Linked DNA regions of Homo sapiens: region 2 is linked to region 1. The links are contacts of gene promoters, found by promoter capture Hi-C in human tissues and cell types (Jung and others, 2019). All regions are on one chromosome and are shown on one strand. The core of a region is centred on a gene start or on the middle of the fragment in contact, and the rest is flanking DNA. Distances in the headings are between cores, read along the strand shown. Region 1 holds the start of GPR139 (G protein-coupled receptor 139). Region 2 has its middle 76 kb from the start of GPRC5B.

Region 1 (3,574 bases), core at 413-2,912:
GGCTCACACATTAGTAAACTTGCGCTTTCTCATGCCTGCCAAATTTGGGAGGGGGGATTTATTGAAACAATCTCATCAGGGGCCCTGACTGCCAAGTTGAATGTTTGGGAAAGGAAATCTCAGCCAGGCTCTCAGAAATCCAGCTCCCAAGTTCCCAGGATCGCAAGATGCTAAGGTTCGCAGACTAAGAGATGACTAGGGAGATGATGCTAAGATTTCAGGCTGTACACTGGATTTTTTTTCTCTCTTTCTCTCTGCTTCTTTCAGTCCCTCTCTCCTCTCTGCATGCAAGTAATCTTTAGGGATCTATTTGTCACCAAGACTGCCTGCAAGGAGGGTCCACCCAAAGCTGGAGCCCCAGGAAAAAAGCTTTCTCTCTCTCTCGCTCTCTCTCGCACACGGCCCAGGCAAGCACTCCCTCCTTCTCGGCAGCTCAGCTCTCTTCAGGAATTCAGGACAAGTCTCAGCCACACTTTGGAAAGGACATTAAGATGTGGGACCAGCCAGACATCCACAGCAGCCGTGAGCTGCCCAGGGTGGGTAGACCTGGAGGCCAAGCCAGGGGGCCAGGCATGTCCTCAAGGAGACTGTGACCCCCTGAGGTGGCAGCCACCGCAGGCTGCCCTGTGTGTCTCTGCACCCTTGCCCTGGCCAGGGCATGGTCCCAGAGCCAACCCCTGATTCTCCTTAGCCAGCTGGGAGACCCTTTTCTTGCTAGGCATTCTTTCTCCATTCCAGTGCCCCCCGAGCAAGAGAGTGCTCAATGTCAGGGTCTCCAGCTTCATCTCGTGTCAGGCGGGGACACGCAGAGGGGCAGAGGTGCCCCAAGTGGGGTGGACGTGCAGGGGCCACGGGAGAAGGGAAGCCTCCACGAAGCCTTCTGTCCAGAACATGCAGTCAAGCCAAACACACACAAAGCCCTCTACGCCCCCACCCCATGAAAGCCGCCCCCTCCAGATGCGCGCACAAATGCACCTTCGAATCCATGCTCACATGCCCAGCCCATCGCCCGCCGTCACAGTCATCACACACACACACACACACACACACACGCTCGCGCGCGCACACACACACACACGGTCCCCAGCTAGGGCACAGCAACTTCCTTTCCCCCCGTGTGGAAATATCCATAGTTGCCCTTAAAGCTTAAACTTTTTCCGAGGGGGCGCCAGGGAACGCACGGGGGAGGACGGGGGATTCTGGGTAGGGTTGCCCGGCACTTGGGGTTCCTGGCTTCCCTCCCTCTCCCCCACGCCCCTCACCTGGTAAACCGAGGCACAGCAAGAGGCTGTAGTAGACCACGGGCACGAAACCCAAGCCGCAGGCCGAGCCGGGGGACCACCAAGACAGCGAGCTGTTGGCTGCGAGGTGGGCGTGCGTGTGCTCCATGAGCGCGCCCCTCGCTCCCCTTGCCGCTTCGCGCCCGGCCTGCCAGCCCGACTCTGGTCGCCGGCTCGGTGGTGGCGGCGGCGGAGGCAGCGGCAGCTGGAGCAGCAGCGCCTCTCTCCCCGCAGGACTGGCTCCTACCCTTGGCCGTGATCCCCTCTGCTCGCTCCGCACCTGCCCGCCTGGAGTCTTGGCTCAGCCCTCCCGCAGGGCGCGGGGCGCAGGGTGCGGGGCGCGCTGCGCGGGGCCTCGGGAGGGGCTCCCGGAGCCCGTCTGTGCGCCTCCCACCTCGGACCCGCTCCACTCCCGCCTCAAAGCCGGGGGGCTGGGACGCCGCTCCCCGCAGCCAATCAGCGGCTGCCTGGAAGCGGAGTGTGTGTGGGGTGGGAGGGATGCGGAAGAGGAGGGGGTCCCAGCCGCCTCGCTTGGCTCCACTTTCAGGGGAGAAGATGCAGTTAGACCTGGGAGCCCCGAAGGAAGACCGGAGTGGAAAACAGGCTATCCCCAATCTCCAACCCCGAGGGAGGGGCGTGGTGTGGGTAGGATCTGCCTCTCCCGCAGCGGCTCCTCACTCCTCCAGCGTGTCCTCAGTTTGCCTTTCTCCACTCTCCTCGCAGCCACCTCTCTTGCCCCTCTCCAATGCTTCCAGTCCATCTCCGGATAGAGGATTCTATACCTAGGGCAAAGAACGGGGGAAGGGGTGGGGCTGTTGGAGCAGCGAGGATGCTAAAGCGTTGTCGGTTTTCCTCGACAAGGGAAGCTGAGCTTGCTGGCTCTGGAAAGAGGGGTGCGTGCCTCCCTGTGCGTGTGTGTGGCGACTCTGGGGGTGGCCGCCGGTGAACTGTCCCCTAACTGGAGTGCGTTTGAAGAGGATACAGACTGGCTAAGAGAAGCCCCTCCTGCATGCCGCCCTTCAGTCAGGAATAAGGATGTTGCAGACACTCAAACACGCACTCGCCCACGCTCACACAAAGACACACAATACCCAGGCATGCGGTGTACTCACACGCTCACTCAGGCACGCGGATGCTCTCCCATCCCACACCCAGACCCTTGAAAACACGCAGGCATCCTCATCACCATGCACAAGACCACACTCACAGGGCGCTCCAAACATACGAAAACGCACGCGGGAGTCATGGGGGCTTGTCGAGAGTGCTTGAAGGTTGTGTGAAGGGTAGCATTTGTAAGGCAGGTGGGATCCAAGCAATGTGTGGGTGGGTGGTCCTTTCTCCTCAGGGCAGGCAGGTGGAGGGTTCCGGGTGTGGCCACCACAGACTTGAGGAGAAAGAGAGGAGAGAAAGAGAGAGAGAGAGAGAGAGAGGAGAGAGAGGAGAGAGAGAGAGAGAGAGAGAGGGACATAGTGTCTGTCTGGGGCTCAAGACAGTGAGTGTGAGAGAGTTAAAGATTCTGCAGGAACACCCAGGCCAGGCATCCCCAGGAGCAGACTGTAGCAGCTGCCTATGCAAAGAGCTGTGATGGGTCTGAGAAGCCTAAGACCCCCCGCCCTCAAACCCCCCACTCCCGCTGCTTCCCAACGCCCCTCACCCCTATATCACATCCATTCCTGGAGAGAAGGAACTGGCTAAGCTTTCCCCAGCCTCTTCCAGGTCTCCCAACGTGGAGCAGACCCCTGTCCCTCAAGACCAGCAAAGAGCATGTATCCAGTTCTTGTCTTTGTTAGAGGTTACCCCAGGCAGGGATGGGGGACACTCTAGGGCAGAGTGGAAATCTCCAAAGCATACAGAGTCAGGCAGTCTGCATAAGGGGGGCATCTACTGGATCTAGCTGGGTCTGTGGTAAGCAAGGAGGCACGTGGCCCCACAAAAGGGCAGATTAGAGTCACATGGACCCAGCCCAGTGAGGCCAGGTCTGAGATTTCAAGCCCCATTAGATACTGAAATTTTATTATGACCTCTCTCGATTAAATATGACTACTGCAAACACAAAGAAAACGAGAACACCGCTGCATTGATGAATAAAGCAGTGGCTGGCCATTGTAGAAGCTCAATAAATAATTGTTCAAAAACCTATAGATTGGATTGGTCTGCAGGCAGCTAGACTGAGATGAGAAGTTGGGGATAGCCAGGGGCGGGGGAAATGTATGTGATCTGACAAAGCCCTCCTAGTCTCTTCAAAGATGCCCTCTGCATTGGGAATGATGGATAAGGCTTCTGGGCTTTTGCAC
Region 2 (3,096 bases), core at 555-3,054, 110 kb before region 1:
GAAAGACTGGATAGAGAAAGCTTATAATATACCTGCTGTTAGATTCTGTTCTTGTTCATTGTTTTTGTTCATTGTTTTTGAGTTGAAAAATTATTTGCTGCTATTTGGATTGAATCTTAAGTCCTTTCTGGGCTACAAGTCTCCAAACTAATGTTTTCAAATTTTTCTTCCATTTTCCTAACTTAACAGGATTTCTACTGTCTTTTTCCTGATTCCCTGCAAGCTAAAGCTTATTCTTTATGATACAGGTGAGAACATGTCAGATTGCCACTGCCTTTCTCTGTAACTAAAGATGCTTTGAATCTAACATCTGGATAGATTATGCCCACCATTAATGCTTGTTTTTCTTCTGTTTCCATAGAAATGCCTCTATTAAAAGTCTGTTTGCTTTATATTTCAGACAACAGGAGACTGGTTTTCCAGCCTACCAACTTAAATTTCAAATGGTGTTCAATCCCTTCTTATAAGCATTGTTAAACTGAGCTTAAGCATTTTATTAATTATTACTGTGTGCTATTTGATTTTTAAAATAATTATCTGTTACATTCAACGGCGGTGCAGATGGTTAAAGTTTGTCTTCCAGGCTTCAACAGTTCATGTCAAACTGATAGTGGTGCAAGGATTCCAACCCCTACCATCCCAGGAGGAGCCAAGCTCCTATGAAACACTAAATCAAGACGTTTTTATGACTTCATAAATTAGGGATAAACAATGACCCTGGCCAGCAGGAAGTAGCTCCAAAAGATGAAACCATTGCCCTTTCTCCTTAAGAAGAGGGAGAATAAATTCTCTCAGCGGGGAATAAGACACAGTGGAGATGGGGTTGGTTCAGCTCACATGCTCTAGAGCATTCTTTCATGCATTCTCACTGATCACAAACCCACACCAGTACCTCAATGCTAAAAATTCCAGGAACTGGCTCTAGGAGATAACCAAGGTTGCAGCATTCCCCCTTGGGAAGGAATGCTGAACAATCGATTTATAGACTTGTTGCTGCTGGCCAGACCACCAGGTGACCACGACTCCAAACAGCCATTGCAACCTGAGATACTGAACTGCATACCCTACTCTTCACATGCCTTGCCCAGTACAGCCTGCATACCCTCCCCCGATGTCAATTCCCATGTTTTGCCTAATAAAAAAGCCCTACCCACTCTTTTTGGGGAATCGGTTTAAGGAATTCCCTCTCTCTCTTGCACTGCCTCCCTTATGTCGGAGCATAAGCTCCAATGAAGCCTCATTGGATATCCCGTGATCCCACCATTGCACTCCAGCCCGAGTGACAGATACTGTTTCAAAAGAAAATATCTTGATGGCTCTCCCTGGGGGCATAATCAGAGAAACACAGGAGTTCAAGGGACTTGTGTGGGCTTAGAGTCAGCAAACTATGGCTGCCACTTGTTTGTGTAAATAAAGTTTTATTGCAACGCAGACAAGACCATTTATTTATGGATTTGCCCGTGGCTGCTTTTGCAATACTCAGCAGAACTGAGTAGTTGCAGCAGAGACTGTATGGCCAGCAAAGTTGAAAATATTGACTATCTAACCCTTTACACAAAAACTTTGCTGACTGTCTTGAACAACGTGTATTTCAGCAGAGACTACATGGGGCAAAGCCTATGAGTATTGCCTTGAAAGGATAGGGCTAAGACCTGAGAACTTTTGTTCACCCCTTGTGGGTAGGGGATGGTGCTCAGAAAAGGTGTTCTAATTATCACTGAAGTCTCGTTTTCCACCAGGACAGTGGATGGCTGCCCAGAGTTGGATTGAAGTTGATTTAAAGAAAATAAAGGAACAGGATAACCTTGCACACTGGAGATTTGTATCTGCTTGGGTAAAAATAGCATGATAGTGTTATATTACCCAGTGCATCCCACCACTTCTGGAAATTTCGTATATCATTCTCCCTCCCACCTGAGACTGTGGTATTCCATACTCATCACCATCCAGGGATGGCTGTTATGGCAGGAATGCATAGAGGAAGAAGAAAAAAAAAAAAAAAGCCAACGCTCAGCTTTTGAGTTTCAAAACAGGTTTTTGAAATGCTTGGCACCTGACAATAATTTTGAAAACCAAGGATTTTGCTTTATAAAAGCCAGTTTTTAAAAATGGTTTCAAAAGCTTAAGTCCTAAAGAGCTTAGGGTGCATGGTTTATATCATAATAAAAAACTTGGAAAGAGAAGATGAAGAGGCAATTTTATCACTACAGAAATGATAACATCTCCCTGGGAAGAGACAGAAGCAAGGAGATACACGAGAATTAGGTGTGGATAAGTATGGAATCAGTTATTTATTGCTGCGTGAAAACTACCCCAAAACTTAGTGGCTTAAAACAACAATTCTTATTTATTTTGCTCACTGTTCTGCAATTTGGGCAGGGCCTTCTCTGCTCCAGTGACATCAGCTGGGATGGCTTGATGGGGTGGGGGTTGGCAGGTGGTTCGGAGATTTGTTTTCAGGATGGCTCATTCATATGGCTGGTAAGTTGGTGCTGGCTGTTGGGAAACTCAGCTGGGGCTATGGCCAGGGATCTCAGTCCTCTCCACAAGTCTCTCCATGGCTACTTGGACTTTTCTGCAGCATGGGATTTGGGTTCTAAGAGCAAGTATCCCAAGAGAGGAGGATAGAAATGCATAGCTTTAAAATGATATAACTTTGGAAGTCAGATAGTATCTCTTCCACCGTCCTCTACTGATGGAGGCAGTCATAAAGCTCTGCTCAGGTTCAAGGGAAGGTACTATGGTTTGAATGTTTATCCCCTCCAAAACTTATGTTGAAACTTAAATCCCCAATATGGCAGTATTGAAAAGTGGAGCCTTTAAGAGGTGATTGGACCATGGATGCTCTGCCCTCATGAATAGATTAATCCATTTATGGATTGATGGGTTAATGAATTAATGGGTTATTATGGGAGTGGCATTGCTAACTTTATAAGAGAAGAGACACCTGAGCTAGCATACTCAGCCCCCTTCCAATGTGGTGCCTTCCTCAGAACTCTGCAGAGAGTCCCTACCAGCAAGAAGGCCCTCACCAGGTGCACCCCCCTTGACCTTGGACTTCACAGCCTCCAGAACTGTAAGAAATGAATTTCTTTT

Evidence for each region. The method cuts DNA at HindIII sites, captures the fragments that hold promoters and counts their contacts. A contact is called where the count stands out against the background at its distance.
Region 2: a fragment that was not itself captured here is called in contact with the fragment with the promoter of GPR139 in region 1 in 2 of the 25 tissues and cell types used here (H1 embryonic stem cells and aorta).

What each region holds. Positions count from the first base shown.
Region 1 is chr16:20,072,228-20,075,801 of GRCh38, forward strand. It overlaps GPR139 (G protein-coupled receptor 139), which reads right to left and starts at 1,663. Exons shown (of 2, transcript NM_001002911.4): 1 at 1,263-1,663. The coding sequence starts at 1,389. The HindIII fragment of the contact is 2,569 bases long and covers 758-3,326 here.
Region 2 is chr16:19,958,949-19,962,044 of GRCh38, forward strand. No RefSeq gene overlaps it. Among named protein-coding and RNA genes, the nearest start is that of GPRC5B, 76 kb to the left of the region's middle. The HindIII fragment of the contact is 5,795 bases long and covers 1-3,096 here.